Linked DNA regions of Homo sapiens: regions 2 and 3 are each linked to region 1. The links are contacts of gene promoters, found by promoter capture Hi-C in human tissues and cell types (Jung and others, 2019). All regions are on one chromosome and are shown on one strand. The core of a region is centred on a gene start or on the middle of the fragment in contact, and the rest is flanking DNA. Distances in the headings are between cores, read along the strand shown. Region 1 holds the start of RAMP3 (receptor activity modifying protein 3). Region 2 holds the start of MIR4657 (microRNA 4657). Region 3 has its middle 9.7 kb from the start of PPIA.

The links. The method cuts DNA at HindIII sites, captures the fragments that hold promoters and counts their contacts. A contact is called where the count stands out against the background at its distance.
Region 2: a fragment that was not itself captured here is called in contact with the fragment with the promoter of RAMP3 in region 1 in 2 of the 25 tissues and cell types used here (lymphoblastoid cells and mesenchymal stem cells).
Region 3: a contact is called between a fragment that was not itself captured here and the fragment with the promoter of RAMP3 in region 1, in 1 of the 25 tissues and cell types used here (spleen).

Annotation. Positions count from the first base shown.
Region 1 is chr7:45,156,500-45,159,199 of GRCh38, reverse strand. It overlaps RAMP3 (receptor activity modifying protein 3), which reads right to left and starts at 1,409. Exons shown (of 3, transcript NM_005856.3): 1 at 1,314-1,409. The coding sequence starts at 1,371. The HindIII fragment of the contact is 28,590 bases long and covers 1-2,700 here.
Region 2 is chr7:44,879,670-44,882,369 of GRCh38, reverse strand. It overlaps PURB (purine rich element binding protein B), which reads left to right. Exons shown (of 1, transcript NM_033224.5): 1 at 1-2,700. MIR4657 (microRNA 4657) reads left to right here and starts at 570; the gene lies at 570-622. The HindIII fragment of the contact is 4,835 bases long and covers 1-2,700 here.
Region 3 is chr7:44,805,078-44,807,777 of GRCh38, reverse strand. No RefSeq gene overlaps it. Among named protein-coding and RNA genes, the nearest start is that of PPIA, 9.7 kb to the right of the region's middle. The HindIII fragment of the contact is 4,337 bases long and covers 1-2,700 here.

The DNA of each region.
Region 1 (2,700 bases), core at 160-2,659:
TTGGAGGGGGACAGTCAGGACCAACACAACAGGACAAAGAAGTGGCCCTCAGGAACTGGGTCCACGAGAGACAGGATTATTAAGGGGGGATTCTGTGCAGGCGGAAGCCTGTGGTCCTTCTCAATTTGATACTGGAGATGATCAGGAAAGCCTCAGCTTCTCCCAGAATGAATTGAGAGGACCTTCCTTCCACTATAGCGACCAAGATCTCCACCTAAGGGGCGCTCACTGGAAGTTTGCTGAAATCCCAAATCAGCATGCTCCTGATTTCAGAAGCTGCCATCCACCTTTGCACTTCAACACAAAATCCACCACATCCTAGGCTCCAGCCCTGGAACACCAAATGAAGCCACACAAGTTCTGCACACCAAGACCTCTTCAATGGAAGGAAAATGACCACTGAGTTTGGTCCACCCTTTTCCCACCTCCCGTACCAAATCCCAAATCATCAAAACAGGCCCAACTCTGCATCTTACAGCCAGGGAAACTGGGGACCACCAGGCCAGGGCCCTCCATCACCAATGTCCCCCCCAGAACTGGCCAGGCTCAGTCACCACTCAGTGGACCCCAGCCCTCAGCAAGCACTCTTCCCCAACAGCCTTTACACACATTCTCTCTCTCTCTCTCTCTCTTACTTTTTCTTGGATAATTTCTTTAGCAAGGTACTTCAAAACAAGCTTTTAGTTTAATCTATTTCCATTTTGTGAGCAATGGTTCTTCCTAGAGTCCTGATTTCTTGCCGAAGAAGGCATTAGGAGAGGATGGCTCAGAGAGTCGCCCCGCTTCCCCTCTCAGCCAGTTCCAGGACACACACAGGCGTCCACACACTGAGGGGCCCTGGGAGGACCAGCTACCCAGTCCGGAGTCCACCCGCCCACGCCCCTGTGAGTGGTGGGCAGGCACTCAATGCCAGGACAGAGAGCTCACTACCTTACAGACAGCCCACCCTGGGGGATAAGGGGTAAAGAGCCAGACCTGGTCCACCTCTTCTCGCCCACCCTGAGGCGACCCCAGAACCGGGGCGTGGGGGGACATCACAACTAGAAGGACCGGGGGCTGCCGGACCCTGCCGTCAGAAGACCCCGGAGGGGGCCCTGTGCCTCCCTTGCCCGCCAGAGTCCTTCGCCTTCAGCTTCTCCCGGGTGGAACCCTCCCGCAGAGCCTGGGAATCCCGCCAGGGTCACTGTGCGCCCCTCCCGAGCTCCGGGGCAAGGGAAGGACCGCGGCGCAGGTGCGGGAAGGCGCGGGTCCACCCGGGTCCGGTGAACCCCGAGGAGTGGGGGCGCCCCCGGTGCGGGCCGTCGCCCCCTTACCGCAGAGCAGCAGCAGCAACGGGAGAAGTTGCGGGCGCCGCAGCGCTCCAGTCTCCATGGCTGGCCGGCCGCAGCTGGGTCACGCTCGGTCCCGCTGGGGGCGCGGCTGGGGGACGCCCGGTTGGGGTTGGGGTGGGGCGGGGCCTCAGGGGGTCCGCCCTCAGGCCGCACCCCCAGACCACGCCTGCGGCCGTGCCCCGTTGCCTCCAGATGTGGGGTGCAGTCCCTGCAGGCGCGCCGGGTGGGAGGGATGGGGGCGGCTGGAGTCTCAGCGGGGTGAGAGGGGGGCGAGGGCAGGGTTTCGAGCTGGGGACAAGCTGGGGTAAGGTGGGGTGCCGGCTGATGGGCTCTGAGGGCGGGGCTGGGGTGCTGAGCTGCAAAGGAGCTTTTTGGGAGCAGATTGTAGGGGCAGACTGGGAGGTGAGCTGGGGTGAGCGTGGGGGCCGGCTGACGGTGGGCTGGGATGCAGGCTGGAGAGACTTGGGGAACTTCCGTCCAGGCTCAGGGGCAGAGGGTGGGGGTAGACCGGGGAGGGAGCTGAGGTGAGGATGAAGCGCTGGCTGATGATGGCCTAGAGGAGTCTGGGGGTAGACTGGAGGAAGGTGGACCTGGGAGTGGGCTAGGTGTGCCCTGGCCGAAAGTAGACCAGAGTCCAGAGCTGCCCCCAGGCAGGGAGGGGAACTTTGAGCAGAGATACATCTAGGAGCCAGGTCTCCAAAGGTCAGGAAAGTGCATAAAAGAGGTTGGGGGGTGTGTGTGTGTGCGTCTGTGTGTGTGCGTGTGTGTGTTGTTCATGGAGTACGTGTGTGTGATGTGCATGTGGGGTGTGTGTAGATGCATGTGTGTGCATGGAGTGTGTGATGTATGGTGTGTGTGTGGCATGTGTGTGTTTGAGTCTGAGACAAGGTGTGTTTGTGAGTGTATGCTTGGGAAACAGTGTGTATGAGAGAGACTGGAGGGTGTGGCAACTACACACACAGAGACGTATCACACACCAAGAACCAAGCCACAAGCAAACCAAGGGACAGGAGAGTATCTGGCACCACCAAAGACCTGGCCTTGAAGAGTGTCAGGGTCCCTGAGGCGAAGGAGGGCCTCAGTTTCTCCAGCCACAGGTCACTTGGCCAGATGGGTCACCTCTGTCACCCTCAGCCCCTAGCACAGGCCCTGGCTCCAGTGGACACTTAATGGTGTCTTAAGAATTGTCACTGGTCAGGACTTCCGAGAGCCAGCTAGAGGCACCTCTCTGCCCTCCAGGGCCCACCCACCACCCCTGGGGGCACATGCTGGTCTGAGGTTGGGGCACAGGCCCAGGCTCCTACATGGATGGGCCCTCCACTCCTCTGAGCCGTAGGTACTGCTACCTTCCCAGGAGCTGAGCTGAACT
Region 2 (2,700 bases), core at 108-2,607, 280 kb after region 1:
AATTTTTCTCCGTTGCAAAGAATGTTTCCTAAATTGTATGGGAGCAATAGTATTTTTGATGTTTTAATGACATCCGTATACTTGTACTGTATTTTGTACTACAAGGCAGCTGTTTTTCAATAATGTCCTGCTGTATTTACCTACGTGTTTTGAGTGTCTATTTCTTTGCTGCGGAGAACAAATTCCTAAATAGTTTTAGTAAAGGAGCTGAGAAGCTAGCATTAGGTTTGCAGAAACTATTTAAGTTTCAACTCTGAGGCAGCAATGAAAATTTAAGTTGCAGCTATTAGTTGATTGCTGTAACTTTTTCATTTTCAAACCATGTACAATTCTTGTATAGACCAACTTGTTTTCTTGCTTCAGTGGTGGTTCTGTTGCTCAGCTGCAGTGAGCCAGTTCAATTTTGCAAAGGTGCAGTACCTCTCCTTTTTAAGGGGTTGGTTTATTCTTTTTTCTTTTTGTTTGGCTGAATTGCAGTAACTAGCCTTGCCTTTCTATTCTGTAGAAATGACAGGGTCTTCACAATCCTTCACCAGTGGCTACTAAGCTATAATTAGCTGAATAGAAAGAATGTGGAAGTGGTCTGAGGCATATAGAGTATATGCCAAGAACACTACCATATATGGCATCAGCTTTGGTTACCAGAGAAATTTTCTTAGTCATTAGACCATGTAACAGTAATATATCATATGTAAATCTTTAGATATCAATTTGAAAATCCTCCAAAAAAAGGAGCAAAGAATGCATAAGCTATGTGTTGGCAAAAGTAATTTATATTAAAATTTTGACCTGCCTATGTAAGATTAAGTGGTAATGTCATAGTGGTGGGTTTTTAAGTCTTAACCAATCTCTAAGGTTTGTTTCTCCTGCAAGGGATGGTTCATGGCCTCTCTTCCCACTGCAGGAAGATTGCAGAAGGCTGTGGATTAATTGTAGCATTTCACTGATCTTCACTCCAGTCACTAGGGACAATAGAAACCTGCAAAACACAGATTCATTCGTAAATATTATTAATAGCTTATTAAAGGAAATGGTCTTTGTTAATTCCAGTCAGATAATGGCATTGTACAGACATGGGAAACAACCAATTTTTTTGTTTTTCAGTTGTTGCTATGAATGATTTTGAGCCTTTTTTTTTAAGCTTGGCAAACATCCCAGCTAATCAAAATAGTCATATTCCTGAGAAGTAGGAAACTAAAACTTCTTTTCATATAATTGTTAGAAGGTTTGTTTCCCAAACTACCATAGTTACAAAGGTGAAAAGCCAAATTTTAGGAACAGAATCAAAAGAATAAAAATCTGTGAAGAGATCCTACTACTCTTCCTTCTATGTTTTGGTTTTGGTTTCTATTGTCCCTATCATTTCAGCAAGTGGAACAGCAGCAAGTTTTTCAGTGCATATGCTGCACAAGAACAAAATATAAATCTGTATGGCACCAAAAATCAAAGTGAAAACCAAACCAAAAACCCAAACACCCTATGTAACTATCGGAGGCATATACGTGGTATAAATGACTGTAGCTGTGATACACACATGGCTACTTGTCACATCACTTTCCATAATTATTTACTGCAAAATGATTGAGAGGCTTTTGGTGCAGGCAGCCGTTAACCTCCTGCTTCCTTTGTTACCTCTGGATTACTTTGCAGTAAATTGCAGGTCTTTTAAGAGATTTAAGCTTCAGTTTTCTCAAAACAAAACAATTATCCTGTCTTATCTGAAGATGCAGGGTTGTGGGCAAAAGAGGCTGGTTATAATAATGCCCTCATATTGAGTGGTCTGTAAACGGCTGCACACTTCAGGCACTGTAGTTGCTGAAGATGCTTTGTTAAATGTGACCTTGACTGGCTTTACAGGGGTGTAGAATGTAATCTACACAAGGTGACTTTGCATCTATCTTGCTCTTGAGGTGGATGAAATTGAGAAGCTGGAGTGTGTAAGCCATGCACATAAGTATTCTTCACTGTAAATTTTGTTTTCATTTTTAACCCAATTATGGTACTTTATCCAATGCACAACTGATCTCTCAGTAGATATTCATTTGAAAATAGTGTGGCCTTGATCAGTGAGAAAGGGAAGGAGAAAAGTGACTTTTTTGCTTATGTAGAAATGACTCATTTGCTGAGAGTTTGTCTTTCTGCAGCACTCTTGGTATATAGTGATCGGTCTCCTTTTTGATTGGGGAAAGTTAATGTTTTTGACCCTGGAGTTAATTCAGTTGAGTTATCTTATATTTTTAGGAAGTATCAGAATTGCTCTGATGAATAACAAAGTTGACTGTTTTGATGTCCAATCTCAGGTTTTAGAATATAGTGGTGTAAAGTCCCACTATTTTTAATTCTTAAAACAACTTTAATTTCGTACACCCTAAAAGTCACATGCATAAGGCCTGTTCAGAGAGCAGAGCCTCCATCTTTTTGCTCCTTTTCTACTTTGTACTTCACTTGAAAAAATATCAAGTGACTTTACATTGTATATTTCCATTGTAACCCTGACATTTCTCAAAGATAAAGCACTTTTTGATCATGAAATACATGAAATCTTTGTGTGATGTGGATCATAGTTTCTCAGGCTCCCTTAGATAATTGCTTATGAATATTGTTCTAACTCTGTGTAAGAAGAGTAGAAATCTTTGCTAATGTTAGAAGGTTTGTATTATTGATCCAGAATGCATTTTGCTAGTTTCCAATGGATGGGAG
Region 3 (2,700 bases), core at 22-2,521, 350 kb after region 1:
AAGAGCGAAACTCTATCTCAAAAAAAAAATAATAAAAATATGGAATACATGTGTAGAACATGCGGGTTTGTTACATAGGTATATGTGTGCCATGGTGGTTTGCTGCACCTATTAACCCTGAAATAGAATTTTATTTATTTATTTATTTTGAGACAGAGTCTCGCTCTGTTGCCCAGGCTGGGGTGCAATGGTACGATCTTGGCTCACTGCAGCCTTCATCTCCCAGGTTCAAGCGATTTTCCTGCCTCGGCCTCCTGAGTAGCTGGGATTACAGACATGCACCACCATGCCTGGCTAATTTTGTATTTTGAGTAGAGATGGAATTTCACCATGTTGGCCAGGTTGGTCTCGAACTCCTGACCTCAAGTGATCTGCCCACCTCGGCCTCCCAAAGTGCTGAGATTACAGGCATGAGCCACCGTACCTGGACTGAAAAAGAATTTTAAAAAGCAATAAACATAAAAACACATTATAAGAACAAGGGGGAACATCTGACTGTGAACCAGATATTATAGATTTTACAGATTTTCTGAGGTGGAGAAAGGCATTGGCTGACTTTCCCAGAAATAGTTCTTGTGTTCTCAAAGACCCTGAGGCCACACTCTAACCCAGCCTGCTCAACTTGCCTTCTCCTGGGAGCCTGCCTCATAATAGTGGCAATTTCGACCTTTCTTTGCACAATTAGGTTTGTGCTTGCTTCTCACTTTTTCTCAATATGTTTTTAGGGACACAGGTGCTAGAGATTGATGAACACAAAAATTGGAATCATGGGCTGAGCACGCCTGTAATCCCAGCACTTTTGGAGGCCGAGGCAGGAGGATCACCTGAGGTAGGGAGTTCGAGACCAGCCTGACCAACATGGAGAAACCCAGTCTCTACTAAAAATACAAAATTAGCCGGGCATGGTGGCACATGCCTGTAATCCCAACTACTCGGGAGGCTGAGGCAGGAGAATCGCTTGAACCTGGGAGGCGGAGGGTTGCGGTGAGCCGAGATTGCATCATTGCACTCCAGCCTGGGCAACAAGAGCAAAACTTCATCTCAAAAAAAAAAAAAAAAATTGGAATCATGGTTCCCTCTGAAGAGGAAAGAGCGTGCAACTGAAGAGGGCTTGCAAAGGGCATTTCTGGGATACTAGTAGATATGCTGGGGTTCTTTTTATTTCTGGTCTTTAAACTGTATTTTATAGACTTGTGGTAGGCAACTCTTAAAGATGGTCCCTTATCCCCACCTCTATAAATTGGGTTTCATCATGTTGGCAAGGCTGGTCTCGCACTCCTGACCTCGTGATTCACCCGCCTTGGCCTCCCAAAGTTCTGGGATTACAGGCATGAGCCACCATGCCCGGCCGCCTGGGTAATTTTTCTGTTTTTAATATAGACAGAGTTTCACCATGTTGCACAGGCTGGTCTTGAACACCTGGGTTCAAGCGATCTGCCTGCATTGGCCTCCTGGGTGCTGGGATTACGGGCGTGAGCCACCATGCCCAGCCTAGAATATTTGTAAAGGGATCAGAAGGGGTCTATCACACAGTTACTGTGATATTTCTTCTGAGCCTTCTCTGAACCAAGCTTTAGCCTAGGTACTGGGATACACTGGTGAAAAGCTAGACAAATCCCTGCTGGGTGTTTACACACTAACAGAACTGTTCATGCATGTACCATGTGCTAACCACTCTTCTAAGTACTTCATATCTAATCCCCACAACTCTGAGAAGCAGAGTTTTTAGTTTTTTGGTTTTTTTTTTTGAGCTGGAGTCTTGCTCTGTCACCCAAGTCTGGAGTGCAGTGGCACAATCTCCGCTCACTGCAACCTCTGCCTCCCGGGTTCAAGTGATTCTGGTGCCTCTGCCTCCCAAGTAGCTGGGATTACAGGGGCGTGCCACCACGCCCAGCTAATTTTTGTATTTTTAGTAGAGACGGGGTTTCACCATGTTGTCCAGGGTGGTCTCAAACTCCTGATCTCAGGTGATCTGCCTGCCTCAGCTTTCCAAAGCGTTAGGATTACAGGCGTGAGCCACCACGCTGGGGCAAGTATCTTTTTTTTTGTTTGAGACGGAGTCTCTGTCATCCGGGCTGGAGTGCAATGGGGCCAATTTCGGCTCACTGCAACTTCCACCTCCCAGGTTCAAGCGATTCTCCTGCCTCAAGCCTCCTAAGTAGCTGGGATTACAGGCGCATGCCACCATGCCTGGCTAATTTTTGTATTTTTAGTAGAGACGGAGTTTCACCATGTTGGTCAGGCTGGTCTCGAATTCCTGGACTCAGGTGATCCACCCGCCTCAGCCTCCCAAAGTGCTGGGATTACAGGTCTGAGCCACTGTGCCCGGCCCTGAGTATCTTCTTATTCACTGTGTAAGGCGTGGATATATACAGCAAACTCACAGTGTGGTCTAGGCAAACTCCCGCCTCTCAGCTTGTAAGTTTCCTAAGGGTTTCCATGAGAGCCTCCAACCAGCAGAAAAATGATGGGTTTTCCTGGTTACCTTTCTTCCAAGCTCCACTTCTTTCTCAGGGTAGCCATTTGAGACCTTTCTGACCAGGTCAAATCTTACTACACAAGCTGATGCCGCAATACCAGCTTGGCATCTGACTCACTTTCCTTTTTCTTTTTTTTTTGAGACAGCATTTTGCTCTTTTGCCCAGGCTGGAGTGCAATGGTGCGGTCTCGGCTCACTGCAATGTCCACGTCCGCAGTAGC